4 separate regions of the Homo sapiens genome follow, and all the other regions are linked to region 2. The links are contacts of gene promoters, found by promoter capture Hi-C in blood cells and fetal thymus (Javierre and others, 2016). All regions are on one chromosome and are shown on one strand. The core of a region is centred on a gene start or on the middle of the fragment in contact, and the rest is flanking DNA. Distances in the headings are between cores, read along the strand shown. Region 1 holds the start of H4C6 (H4 clustered histone 6). Region 2 holds the start of TRT-AGT6-1 (tRNA-Thr (anticodon AGT) 6-1). Region 3 holds the start of H2BC7 (H2B clustered histone 7). Region 4 holds the start of OR2B2 (olfactory receptor family 2 subfamily B member 2).

Region 1 (3,384 bases), core at 95-2,594, 920 kb before region 2:
TTTATTAGTATTATTTTTGTTAATTTACAAACCTTTATTCACCATGATTTACCATGTATGCTTTAGTGGCATGAAAGCAGTGGTAGGTAGCAAGGTAGTGAGACTCCAGAATCGAGCCAACAATACAATGCCATTTATTAGAGGATAATGTCTTCAAGCCTGGGATTCCTTATCTTTACACCTCAGATATTGCATTATACATTGAAAAACTAAGAATGAAACTTCAATTAATATTGGTTTCCCTTACTAGAGGTCTTTCTTTATTAGGAATGCCAAAAACGATGTGAATGTATATGTCTCTGCCAAACGCTAAGTCTCATGATTGGCCAAATTTAAGAAGTATTGCTACATTTTAAGAATTAATAAAAATGGCCGGGCGTGGTGGCTCACGCCAGTAATCCCAGCACTTTGTGAGGCCAAGGTGGGTGGATCACCTGAAGTCAGGAGTTCGAGACCACCCTGGCCAACATGGCGAAACCCCGTCTTTACTAAGAAAATACAAAAATTACCCAGGTGTGGCGACGCGTGCCTGAAATCACAGCTACTCGTGAGGCTGAGGCATGAGAATCGCTTGAACCCAGAAGGCGGAGGTTGCAGTGAGCCGAGATAGCGCCACTGCACTCCAGCCTGGGCAACAGAGTGAGACCCCGTATCAAAAAAAAAAAATTAGTAAAAATACATTTTCAAAGAATCTTCACATTTAAAAATTAAAGCTAGGCGCCTGTAATCCCAGAACTTTGGGAGGCCGAGGCGGGTGGATCACCTGAGGTCAGGAGTTCGAGACCAGCCTAGTCAACATGGCGAAACCCCATCTCTACTAAAAATACAAAAATTAGCCGGGCGTGGTGACGCGCGCCTGTAGTTGCAGCTACTGCAGGGGCTGAGGCAGAAGAATCGCTCGAACCCGAGAGGCGGAGGTTGCAGTGAGCCGAGATCACGCCACTGCACTCCAGTCTGGGGCAGAGCAAAACTGTTTCAAAAGAAATAATAATTTTATTCTCTTGTCTATCCATTCGGTAGACAAGTGTAGCGTTACTGCCTCCTTTTTGCAAATAATAAGGATTTTAGGAGACAGACATTATCAGTTCGAGAGCCCACAGGCACTGGACTAGAAGACACAGAAACCTACACTCAAGACCCAAACAAGGAAACAGGAAGGAGTCAAATCAACTTGCATTTCCCCTACCCTCACCGCCCCCTTTCCTTCCCAAGGCAATAGTGTAGGGGACGCCCAGTAAGTTACGGAAAAGGCGGAGACAGAGGTTTCGTTCCCGCCCCTCCAATTCAGTCTCCAAAAAGGTCCGCATAATTGATATATAAGGGGCTTCAGTGTGTAGCAAAGTTGCAAAAGTTAAGAGTTGTTGTTTGTCTTCGATCATGTCTGGTAGAGGCAAAGGTGGTAAAGGTTTAGGAAAGGGAGGCGCCAAGCGCCATCGCAAAGTGCTGCGTGACAACATACAGGGCATCACGAAGCCCGCCATCCGTCGCTTGGCCCGACGCGGCGGCGTGAAACGCATTTCGGGCCTCATTTATGAGGAGACCCGCGGTGTTCTTAAGGTGTTCCTGGAGAATGTGATACGGGACGCCGTAACCTACACGGAGCACGCCAAGCGTAAGACAGTCACTGCAATGGATGTTGTCTACGCGCTCAAGCGCCAGGGACGCACTCTGTACGGCTTTGGTGGCTGAGCCTCACCCCGGCTTTTTATTTAACAGCTCACCCATAAAAGGCCCTTTTCAGGGCCACCTCCTTCGTCACACGAAGGGCTGTAACTGATGACGACTTGGGTTTCGTTTTGTAAATTTGGGATTCTAACTGAGTTAAACCGAGCCGTTTTTAGCGATCTTCCTAAGATGGCGGATGTGCTAAGGAGAAAGGGAAGGCGAAACATTAGAAACTTGTTCAGGTATTTCGATCGCAAACATTCACAGGAAAAGATGGTGGAAATGGTTTGGGAATACCAGCAGCCTTTTATGACGTATGTGATGTGTTTTATTCCCACGTTTCTGAAATTTACTCCTATGTTAGGTGGCTGGGACTTAACTACACTAGCATTACATGTTTAGTTTTTGAGATGGAGTTGCTCTTGTCCAGGCTGTAGTGCAATGACGCAATCTCGGCTCACCGCAACCACCCCCTCCCGGGTTTAAGCGGTTCTCCTGACTCAACCTCCCGAGTAACTGGGGTTACAGGCATGCGCCACCACGCTTGGCTAATTTTTTATTTTTAGTACAGAAGGGGCTTTTCTGTGTTGGTCTGGCTGGTCTCGAACTCCCGACCTCAGGTGATCCGCCCTTCTTGGCCTCCCAAAGTGCAGGGATTGCAGGCGTGAGCCACCGTGCCCGGCCTTAGTGTTATTTATTAGGCATAGAACGTGAGTAATCTTAGGGCGGCTGTGGACAGATCAATTACTGGTAAACTTAATCCACTACTTGTGTCCGGGCGCGGTGCCTCAGGCCTGAATCACAGCACCTTGGGAGACCACGGCGGGCGGATTACTAGAGCTCAGGAGTTCGAGACTAGCCTGGGCAACCAAAATGGTGAAACTCCGTCTCAACTAAAAAAGTTAAATAGGAAAGTTAGCCCGGCGTTGTGGCGGACGCCTGCTGTCGCAGCTAATCTGCAAGGGCTGAGGCAGGAGAATCGCTTGAGCACGGGAGGCGGAGATTTCAGTGAGCTGAGATGGTGCCACTCCACTCCTGCCTGGGCGACAGAGACCATGCCTCAAAAAAAAAAAAAAAAAAGTAAAGTTTGGCCGGGCTCGGTGGCTCATGTCTGCAATCCCATCTGTAATTCCAGCAGCTTGGGAGGCCGAGGTGGGTGGATCACTTGAGCTCAACGAGTTCGAGACCAGCCTGGCTAGCACTGCAAAACCTCGTCTCTACTAAAAATACAAAAATTAGACGTAGACGTGGTGACACGCGCCTGTAGTCCCAGCTACTCGGGAGGCTGAGGCAGGAGAATCACTTGAACCCGGGAGACTGAGGTTGCAGTGAGCCGAGGTCGCGCCACTGCACTCCAGGCCTGGGGCACAGAACAAGGCTCCGTCTCAAAAAGAAAAAAAAAAGCCCAAGTTTTTGTCTTACCCAGTGAATTCTTTGTTGGGGCACTTACTGTGATTTCAGGTCATTGATAATTTTACTGCTTTATTTCTCAAGTACTGGTAATTTATAACCCAAAGTGTTTCTCCTTGTGCTTTGTCAACCTACCCGGTTATCACCCGCGATCCTGACTCCTAACGTTTTCATTTTTTCACCATACCGAAGAAGTGGCTTCTCATCTGTTCTTTTTTTGTCAATGGTAATTCATTACATACACTGTTCCACAAATATTCTTCAACTTGGGGTTTCCTCTTCAAGAAGCCTTTACCTGATTCCTATGGG
Region 2 (3,402 bases), core at 138-2,637:
ATGGTGAAACCCCGTCTCTACTAAAAATACAAAAATTAGCTTGGCATAGTGGCATAGGCCTGTAGTCCCAGCTATTCGGAAGGCTAAGGCACGAGAATTGCCTGAACCCAGGCAGTGGAAGTTGCAGTAAGCCAAGATCACACCACTGCACTCCAGCCTGAGTGACAGAGTAAGACTCGGTCTCAAAAAAAAAGAATACTCATACTTTTAGCAACTTATCAAAAATTTCAGCAAAAGAGATTTGTTCTTTCCTTCTTGGGGCTAAAATAGCCCCCATTTCTTCTCCAACTGTCCATCCAGCTGACATGGATTCTGAAACTCAGAGATATTGTAATTGAGCTGAGCTGCCTTATACTGTAGGATATCATCTCTCCAACAGGTCAGGTTCTAGGCCTCTTCTCAGTAATTTAATAGCATTTGTAGTGGTTATTCATGTTCACTTGTATCACATTCTACTTCAATTTTCTTTTTAGTCTATTTTATCTTGACTCAGTCTTACAAGAGTGAAGACAGGGATCAAGTATGTATTGACCCTAAAGGATCAGTTCTTGTCAATTATTTTGCCACAAGTGAATGATAAAACTGCTAAAGCAATAAACATTTTGATCTTGCAATTCTCCAGAACACATTTTCTCAGATCTTACTGGCCTGAGTAGCAGAAATCTATGGACTCTGACTCAGAGGCTATCTCTTAGTGAGAGAGCTAGGGTCCTAGATCTATTACAGAATAAAATTGTAGTGACAAGTGAGTAATAGGGCTCAATAAAACCCATGCTGTATGATTTGCTCGAAAAGTAGAGAGCTTGCTTGGCGTGTACCATATGATACTCAGTGCAAAGCACATGTTTATCTTAGAGGTGTGAAGTTCTCTGGTTCACAATAATGTTTTGCAGCTTTGAGTGAGCATTGCTAGAAATCTGGTATAAACAGGGGAATTGTGAGATTAAAAGCTTGCATTTTATGAATGCACTAATATTGGTATGGAAGTATCTTACACAGTCTGCCAACCACATTTTCAGAAAGAAAACTGTTTTACTCTACCTATGGCATTCATGGTCTTGAAATGACTTTTTAATATTTCTATGTTTTATCATTCTCATCTCTCCATGGAAATTAATGAAAGTTACCACCTTCTAAGATTGTTCTAAAGATTTAAGGGTGGTAAATGCATGATGGCACTAGCTCAGTAAGGTACAAACAAACAAACAAAATAATAAAATAAGCCATTTTTGGAGCTAAATAAATAAATATCATTGCTACTTAAGTGGTGGAAGGCCTTCATGCAGTAGTAATATTGCAAAGACTGGTACCAGACTCAGCATCTATTTAACTTGACTACAATCCTGTGCTTCTTTGATGCTGATAAGGTAGTTCTAACAATAATAAGAAGGGTTTTGTCTGTCCTCAGTATTGAGGCTTATTTGAAGATCTGAGCAAGGCTTTTTATAAGGCGGATGTTGGCCAAAATGTTTGCTATGATAGGCCATAAGTTTAGGGAAGACACAGATGTTGTGGGAAAAGGTAGGTTCTAGAAAGAATAGCCCCAAAAGTCAGGGAATCAGGAAAAGAACTTTCCTTCTAATGTCAGCAGAAATCCGGATGAAACACTTTAAGCAGGGGTTTCGTAGTGTTAATTTCTCTCAAGGGTGCAGCAATCTATCTGTAGCCACACCACTCCAGCACCTACTTTATGTTGAAATGTCTGCTTGTATCTTGGAAAGATTTCCAAAAGGAGAAACAAAGGGCTTTTCTTCCAGGGTTTTACACATACCAAGATTTATGAAACACCTGTCAGTGAGAAACAGAAGTCGGGGAATACATAACTAAGCTTCACAAAAAACCTCAGCCAATAAAGCTGAAAAATTGGTATAACCTGGCTTTGTGATTAGCTAGGTAGTGAGTAGAGGTTCATGACCCACAGGAAATAAATCAGAAGCAACACCAGGCTTGGTTAAAAAATAAAAACTCAACCTCAACCTAAGTAATTTCTCATCTTTCCAGGGTCTTGCATTTTGTGGATGCTTAATGAATGCATATGCAAAGCACCAGGCAGTTATTTAAATATTTCAGGATATTGGTTTCATCTGCTTTTCCCCATGCTAAGCTGCATTCAGCTAAACATTCCATGACTCCTTCTGCATTCATTAAACTGACAAAGAACCTGAGATAAAAGGTCATGCAACTCTGTGAGGCCCAAGTGAGAGGTTCCCACAGCATCCTGTGAGGGCTATCACATTGTACTCTACTTTGTTCTCTACTTCTCTGTATCATCCACGCAGTTTTACAATCTATGTGGGTCTAGAAATTGAGTCTATTTTAACCCAGCAGGCAAATGAGCAGAACAAGACTATGACAGAAGCAAAGATATCCATCCAGGAGAACTCCCTGTGTACACCTAACTCATTGTTTCTAACAGCAGATCTCCTGTTGAGACCAAAGCTGTCTTTGAAACAGAGGGTCTCAAGGTGCCTAGTTTGGGTAAGTGGGAAGCAGGGTGACCACAGATCTCCACGACATCACTGTGTCCTCGTCTAGGCTCACTTTCTTGTGCCAGATTAGATAAAATAGAAGGAAGCATAATGGTTTTACTCAATTGCAGTGAATTAGCTCAGAAGGTAGTGTCGTGGGTTCTATAACCCAGCGGTAAAGAGATTGGTTTCCATATCACTTGTGTTTTTGTTTGTTGTTGGATTTTTTTAGTTGGTTAGTTTGTTTTGGGGTGTTTTTTGTTGTTGTTTTATCTCCCTGTAGAACATAAATTCAATAATGGAAGAAAATTTTGCTGTTTTATTCAATGTTCTTTCTCCAATACCTAGAAAAGTACCTGAAATGCAGTAATGACTCAACATTTGTGGACAGAATGAATGCACGAACAGAGAAATAAATTTAAAATATGTTGCGATATCCAATATTTCCTGTAGGGGGAGATAGTCACCATGAAATAGAAATTTCACTCATTTCAATTTGAAATAAATTCTGAAATCTTGCATTGAAGAAAAGTATTTTTTTTAGTGTTGGAATTGCTGCTTTGTTGCTGGTTCAGAAACACAGATGTGCTTTCTTTGTCACAAAATTAAGTACACTTTTGTCAAATTGATACATTTTACAAAAATGTTATAAATACGATATATCTGAACATATGCCCAACAGGGGCCCTGTGGCTTAGCTGGTCAAAGCGCCTGTCTAGTAAACAGGAGATCCTGGGTTCGAATCCCAGCGGGGCCTTACGTGTTCAATTTTATATTTTCAATAGTATGTTGCAAATACATATGTTGAAAATGCATTAAGGAATTTATAGGTTGTGAAATCCGTATTGAGCGATTAGCACAATTATGGAGAGTCCCTTGCAGGTAACTGCATCACAATATGAAAGGGTTGGGATGAAGGGAAAAATTAATAAAG
Region 3 (3,463 bases), core at 384-2,883, 960 kb before region 2:
AAAAAAAAAAAAAAAAAAAGCCAAATTTATAAATGGCACAAAAAGACCAGTGTGCCCTTTTAGTCATGCTGAACACTGTGCTAAGAAGCTCCACCTAAGGGCCGTCTGGCTCCAGGGGATGTAGGTTTGTATTCCTATTGATAATTAATTAGGGTTAGCTCAGTAGAGTTGAAAGTGGCTTGCAAAAACAAACCCAAAAAATACTTACAAATTACAGGTTATTTCGTATCATTAAGATGCATACAAAAGACAATAAAACATTTGTTCTGGTTCTGTTGCTTTAAGTCACTAACTATATTTTTATGTAAATGTAAACACTGACAAACATTAACTTCTCTCCTGTATGTCTCAGGCCTTTTAACAGCTTTGCAATCCTAACGAGCCGCTGCATTGATCGATTTAAATTACATGTGACATAAAGTCTCTTTGCATTTTAATTAGTTTGCTTTTTTGGGTTTTTGTTTGTTTTGAGACAGTCTCGCTCTGTCGCCGAAACTGGAGTGCAGTGGCGCGATCTCGACTCACTGCAACCTCCGCCTCCGGGGTTCAACATTTTCTCCTGCCTCAACCTCTTAAATAGCTGAAATTACAGGCGCGCGCCACCACGCCCGACAAATTTTTTTATTTTTAGTAAAGACGGGGCTTCACACCATGTTGGTCAGGCTGTCCTGGAACTCCTGACCCTGTGATCCGCCCACCTTGGCCTTCCAAAGTCCTGGGATTACAGGCGTAAGGAACCGCGCCCCGCCAATTTGCTTATGTATTTTTATGGCATCTTTAAAATGGACGGTTAGTTTCACGATTCAGTGTTAAGAACACCCACTTATAAATGGAAAAATTATTAAAGAAAACTGCAAAATAGCTATTTACACAGAAAATGTGAGCCCTTTTAAGGAATACATGGGTGGCTCTGAAAAGAGCCTTTGTTAAGACTGCTTCCTTAAAAAGCCAATATAAGAGTTCTCGTTTTACTTGCCCTTGGCCTTGTGGTGACTCTCAGTCTTCTTGGGGAGCAGTACAGCCTGGATGTTGGGCAGAACACCGCCCTGAGCAATTGTGACTTTACCCAGCAACTTGTTTAGCTCCTCGTCGTTGCGGATGGCCAGCTGCAGGTGTCGGGGGATGATGCGGGTCTTCTTGTTGTCGCGGGCGGCGTTGCCCGCCAGCTCCAGGATCTCGGCGGTCAGGTACTCCAACACCGCCGCCAGATACACTGGCGCGCCGGCCCCGACTCGCTCGGAGTAGTTGCCCTTGCGGAGCAAGCGGTGTACGCGGCCCACAGGGAACTGGAGTCCGGCCCGCGAAGAGCGGGTCTTAGCCTTAGCTCGGGCCTTTCCGCCTTGCTTGCCGCGTCCGGACATTTTGAATTCTTAAAAACGATGTTAAGCAATGAAGACAAAAATGTAAAAGTGAATTTTGTTAGCAAGTGAGAAACTATTATACTTGGAGGTCGAATTGTAAATAACGCTATTTGATTGGCTAGAACAACCAACCAATTGCAAAGAAACGCTAGAATCACCTAATTTGCATACCACAGGGCACACAGAGACAATTCATCCAATCAATGTGTAAGCTTTTAAATGCCAGTTTACGATAGGAGCTCTACAAATATTACCAGCTGCAGAGTGAGGACACTTGCATTTCTCTTTAGGTTGTGGACGAAGTGTTTATTTATCATGCCTGAACCTGCTAAGTCCGCTCCTGCTCCAAAAAAGGGCTCCAAAAAGGCGGTGACCAAGGCGCAGAAGAAGGATGGTAAGAAGCGCAAGCGTAGCCGCAAGGAGAGCTATTCCGTGTACGTGTACAAGGTGCTAAAGCAGGTCCACCCCGACACCGGCATCTCATCCAAGGCCATGGGCATCATGAACTCCTTCGTCAACGATATCTTCGAGCGCATCGCTGGCGAGGCTTCCCGCCTGGCGCATTACAACAAGCGCTCCACCATCACCTCCAGGGAGATCCAGACGGCCGTACGCCTGCTGCTGCCCGGGGAGCTGGCTAAGCACGCCGTGTCAGAGGGCACCAAGGCCGTCACCAAGTACACCAGCTCTAAGTAATTCTAACGTCTTCATACCCAATCCCAAAGGCTCTTTTAAGAGCCACCCACTTTTTCAGCTATAGAGTTGTAATTACCTGCATATTTTCCGTGTTTACCACCAACAGGTTTGGTTTTATCCTCATTTGAGGGGGTTGCTGCTGTGTAGGTCTAGACCACAGTTCTTTTGACTGGTTGAAGGAAAATGCTATACTTAACCGTAGCATGTTTGTTTTACCCCAAGTGCTGGTTAGAAGGCTAGCCCATTGTGCTGATAAGCACATTTTTCTTATGTTGTGCTGTGATGTGTCCCTTGTCAAATTGGTTTCATAAGAAAAGAACTTTTGAAATATCTCTTTTGCTACTGACATAGTGTGAGGGAAAGGAATGTCTTCCTTAATTCCGGTTTAGTCATCGCAGCATTGGCGAATTTAGCTGGTTAAAATAATGTAATCAAATTCTTTAAAATATAAGGAAAGCAAGACAAGTAATGTGCATGAAAACTGAAAAAATGTGAACACCCGAGCCTGGATGCAGCACTAATAATCAACATTGTTCTTGGTTTAGTTAAAGAAAATTTGGCCACTGGCAAAATACCATTTGGGAGTAATGAGACACACCCCTAATCCTAAAATATTTTCTTGTCACTTCCTCAAAGTTGTTTTTGACTTTTTTTCCTTCAGGGTTGACTTCATATGTGTTCATTTTATTCTAATAAGCAAAAGTTGTAATTTTTAAGTGAAAAAATAATTTATGTCATTCTACTTACAAATACAATTTTTCTATTCTATATACTCATATATAAAGATACTGAAGTTTTACTGTATTCTTGGTAATTACAAGCCTTACTTAAGATCATAAACTGTTATGAATGGCATCCAGTGTAGAATACTTAAAATTTTTACAAAATGTTTTTGTATCTTAAAAATATTTAAAATATTATATATAAAAGATTCTTAGAATTTCAACCCAGTTAAGAAAAAAGGAATAGTATTCTATATTATTACTTTTTTTTTTTTTTTGAGGAGGAGTTTCGCTATTGTTGCTCAGAGTAGAGTGCAATGGCGCAATCTCGGCTCACAGCAACCTCTGGCTCCCGGGTTCAAGCGATTCTCCCGTCTCAGCCTCCCGAGTAGCTGGAACTACAGGCGCGCACCACCATGCCCGGCTATTTTTTGTATTTTTAGTAGAGACGGAGTTTCACCATGTTGGTCAGGCTGGTTTCGAACTCCTGACCTCAGGTGATCCACCATCCTCAGACTCCCAAAATGCTGGGATTACAGGCGTGAGCCACCACACCCGTCCCATAATTATTTTTCAACTTCCCACTCCCTGTCCGGCACATAAATGGACACAGAACACAGCACATGCAAAGCATATATAAACATTCAAATAAACAAAACCCAACTGAAAAAATGAAAGCAACAA
Region 4 (3,213 bases), core at 162-2,661, 750 kb after region 2:
CAACCTCTCAAAAGCTCCCTTTACATCTTTGTTTCTATGTGTGTGTGTGTATGTATGTATGTGTGTGTGCGTGTGTGTATTACTGAAGAGATGATTTCTGGATCAGAAAGGTCTAGTTTACACTGAATTGTACAAACATTGATGTAAAGTGTGACAACCCTTGAAAATGTTGTGATTACAGTTTTTGGTGCATTGGAAGGCCAATTCTGGGGGCTTGTTCAATGAAAATGTTTAGGCAACAGAAACAAATATAGCTTTTTGTCAAGGAAATTTTCTTTGAGGGAGATTACAATAGTTTTCTATAGTAATGACAAAAATAGGACAACTTGCGGAGAAGTTAGTAAGGTAAGTAAGCACTGTGTCTTTAGCAAAGCTTATCATTTGCATATTTCTTATTTCTTGATTAAGAAGACTCTTTGCAACCAACCTTTTAAAGGCTTCCTTTACCTCTTTGTTCCTAAGTGTATATATAAGGGGATTCAGCATGGGTGCAATGATTCCACAGAAGAGAGAAACCATCTTTCCCCGGTCTTTGGAGCTGGGTGAAGGTGGTTGCAGGTACATGGAGATAGCTGTACCATAAAAAAGTGACACCACAATTAGATGGGAGCCACATGTCCCAAATGCCTTTCGTTGACCTTCAGCAGACTGGATTCTCAACACTGCTTGGACAATAAAAGCATACGATATAAGGATGAGTGTCACGGGTATTAGAAGGAATAGCACACTGATGAAGAATAGTTCAGCCTCATTTGCTGTTGTGTCAACACAGGACAACTTGAGCAGAGCAGGGACTTCACAGAAGAAGTGATCCACTTCTTTGTGACCACACAGTGGCATCTTAAGTGTCCAGGTGGACTGTAATACTGAATTGCTAAAGCCACTAATCCAGGATGCAGCTGCCAACTGGAAGCAGAGCCTCTGGTGCATGATAATTGAGTAATGGAGAGGCCGACAAATAGCTACAAACCTATCAAAGCACATGACGGCCAGGAGAAGACATTCTGTGGAACCCAAGGCCAGGAAAATGAAAAGCTGGGCCACACAGCCACCATAACTGATTACTTTCCTGGTGTTGCATATGTTTACCAGCATTTGTGGAACTGTACTTGTGGTATAGCAAAGGTCCAGGAGTGAGAGATTGCTAAGAAAAAAGTACATAGGGGTGTGGAGTTTGAAATCCACATGTGACACAAGAATTATTGTCAGATTGCCAAAGATTGTCAAGATATAGGAAAACAGAAACATCACAAAGGGTGGAATCTCTAGCCATGGTTGATCTGAGAAAACTAACAGAATGAACTCCTGTGGGACACTCTTATTTACCCAATTCATGTTAAATGGTTCAACTCTTCGTTCTCTGAAATATAAGAAGTCAGGAAGTTAACAACACACTTCCTGATTTTGTCAGCTATAATCATTTTGCTATCAATTTACATAAAATTACAGACTGATCCAATTAATAATGTGAAAAAAGTATTGATAAAAATATAAATATTTATCCATCCAAGTATTTAAAAAGTGTTTATATATCTGTAACAGCATATTAGCAAATTGAATCGAATTTCAAGAATCTTTTTTTTTTTTTTTTTTTTTTTTTTTGAGGCAGAGTTTCACTCTTTTGCCCAGGCTGGAGTGCAATGGCGCCATCTCGGCTCACCGCAACCTCCGCCTCCCAGGTTCAAGCAATTCTCCTGCCTCAGCCTCCCCAGTAGGTGGGATCACAGGCATGTGCCACCACCCCGACTAATTTTGTATTTTTAGTAGCGATGGGGTTTCTCCACGTTGGTCAGGTTGGTCTCAAACCCCAACCTCAGGTGATCTGCCCACCTCAGCCTCCCAAAGTGCTGGGATTACAGGCGTGAGCCACTGTGCCCAGCCTAATTTCAAAAATCTTAAGCCATATTTTCAGTTTCCAAATTCACATAATGTATCCTTTGATATTTTACTGTTTGTAAATGTATTTTTCTCATTCTTCCTACCTAGATATCTACTGTGAGGTAGATGTAGATACAGTTTCCTGTCATTTGAATTCATTCTAATTTCTCTTCAAGGCCAGCGAGATTCCCTGATTGTAGAAATCAGTTAACATTAGTTAAAGCCACCTCCCATTATTCCCCTTCCCTCAAAAAAGCCATGTAGACAGTATCTAGTAAGTTATCAGACACAATTTAAGGAGACATATCCTTTTCGTTCTAGAAGCTCATAGAATTTGTATAGATTCCTTAGTAATATGATATTTGAAGGTGACAGGCTGGTCTCATATCCCTACCCTCTCTAATTAGTTACATTCATTATATTGGAATGCTTCTAACCCTTTGATCTCCACAATTCTCATTTGTAAAATGAAGATGATACAGTGGTTCCCCCTTTATCCATGGGGGATACATTCCAAGACCACCAGTGGATAGAAACCTGAAACTGTGGGTAGTACCAAACCCTATATATACTATGTTTTTTAATACATACACAACTATAACGTTTAATTTATAAATTAGGCACAGTAAGAGATTAAGAACAATAATTAATAAAATGCAGCAAGTATAACAGCTCCAGACCCCCATTTATTGTAATACATGTTATGTGAATGTGGTGTCCCTCTCTTTTTTTCTCTTCAAAACACCTTATTCTAGTGTACTCACCCCTCTGTGTTCTGACGATCTGATAACCGAGATGGCTACTCAGTGACTAACAGGCAGGTGGATGCTTTAAATCAAGCTTGTCCAACCTGAGGCCCACGGGCTGCATGCAGCCCAGGATGGCTTTGAACGCAGCCCAGGATGGCTTTGAACGTGGCCTAACACAAATTTGTAAACTTTCTTAAAACATCATGACATTCACTGATGATTAAAAAAAAACTCATCAGCTATTGTTAGTGTTGCTGTATTTTATGTGAGACCCAAGACAATTCTTCTTCTTCCAATGTGGCCCAGGGAAGCCAAAAGATTGGACACCCCTGCTCTAAACAGAAGGATGATTCCCATGACTGGGTGGGACAACACAAGACTTCATCAGGCTATTCAGAATGGCATGTATTTAAAACTTATGAATTGTTGACTTCTGTAATTTTCCTTTTAATATTTGCAGACCATGGTTGACTGTGGGTAACTGAAATTGTGCAAAGCAAAACCACAGATAAGGAAGGACTACTGTAATGTTTTTCTAAGTTGTCTTGATGTGAAGTATAAATGATGTGAGGTATTAACGCACACA

Evidence for each region. Contacts are between HindIII fragments. The CHiCAGO score rates a contact against its expected background, and 5 or more counts as called.
Region 1: the fragment with the promoter of H4C6 here is called in contact with a fragment that was not itself captured in region 2 in 1 of 17 cell types (total CD4 T cells); the score reaches 5.4 in total CD4 T cells.
Region 3: a contact is called between the fragment with the promoter of H2BC7 here and a fragment that was not itself captured in region 2, in 3 of 17 cell types (total CD4 T cells, total B cells and naive CD8 T cells). The highest score is 6.6, in total CD4 T cells.
Region 4: the fragment with the promoter of OR2B2 here is called in contact with a fragment that was not itself captured in region 2 in 5 of 17 cell types (monocytes, non-activated CD4 T cells, neutrophils and 2 more); the score reaches 8.9 in monocytes.

Annotation. Positions count from the first base shown.
Region 1 is chr6:26,239,049-26,242,432 of GRCh38, forward strand. It overlaps H4C6 (H4 clustered histone 6), which reads left to right and starts at 1,345. Exons shown (of 1, transcript NM_003540.4): 1 at 1,345-1,745. The coding sequence starts at 1,378. The coding sequence ends at 1,689. RefSeq lists enhancers at 972-1,071, 1,532-1,581. The HindIII fragment of the contact is 5,393 bases long and covers 1-3,384 here.
Region 2 is chr6:27,159,120-27,162,521 of GRCh38, forward strand. It overlaps TRT-AGT6-1 (tRNA-Thr (anticodon AGT) 6-1), which reads left to right and starts at 3,152; the gene lies at 3,152-3,225. The HindIII fragment of the contact is 878 bases long and covers 949-1,826 here.
Region 3 is chr6:26,197,883-26,201,345 of GRCh38, forward strand. It overlaps H2BC7 (H2B clustered histone 7), which reads left to right and starts at 1,634. Exons shown (of 1, transcript NM_003522.4): 1 at 1,634-2,106. The coding sequence starts at 1,677. The coding sequence ends at 2,057. H2AC7 (H2A clustered histone 7) reads right to left here and starts at 1,411. Exons shown (of 1, transcript NM_021065.3): 1 at 902-1,411. The coding sequence starts at 1,361. The coding sequence ends at 969. It also overlaps a transcript of H3C4 not described here. RefSeq lists enhancers at 476-535, 566-625, 757-1,374, 786-855, 903-2,102 and 3 more. The HindIII fragment of the contact is 6,177 bases long and covers 1,572-3,463 here.
Region 4 is chr6:27,910,985-27,914,197 of GRCh38, forward strand. It overlaps OR2B2 (olfactory receptor family 2 subfamily B member 2), which reads right to left and starts at 1,412. Exons shown (of 1, transcript NM_033057.2): 1 at 201-1,412. The coding sequence starts at 1,335. The coding sequence ends at 262. The HindIII fragment of the contact is 2,345 bases long and covers 372-2,716 here.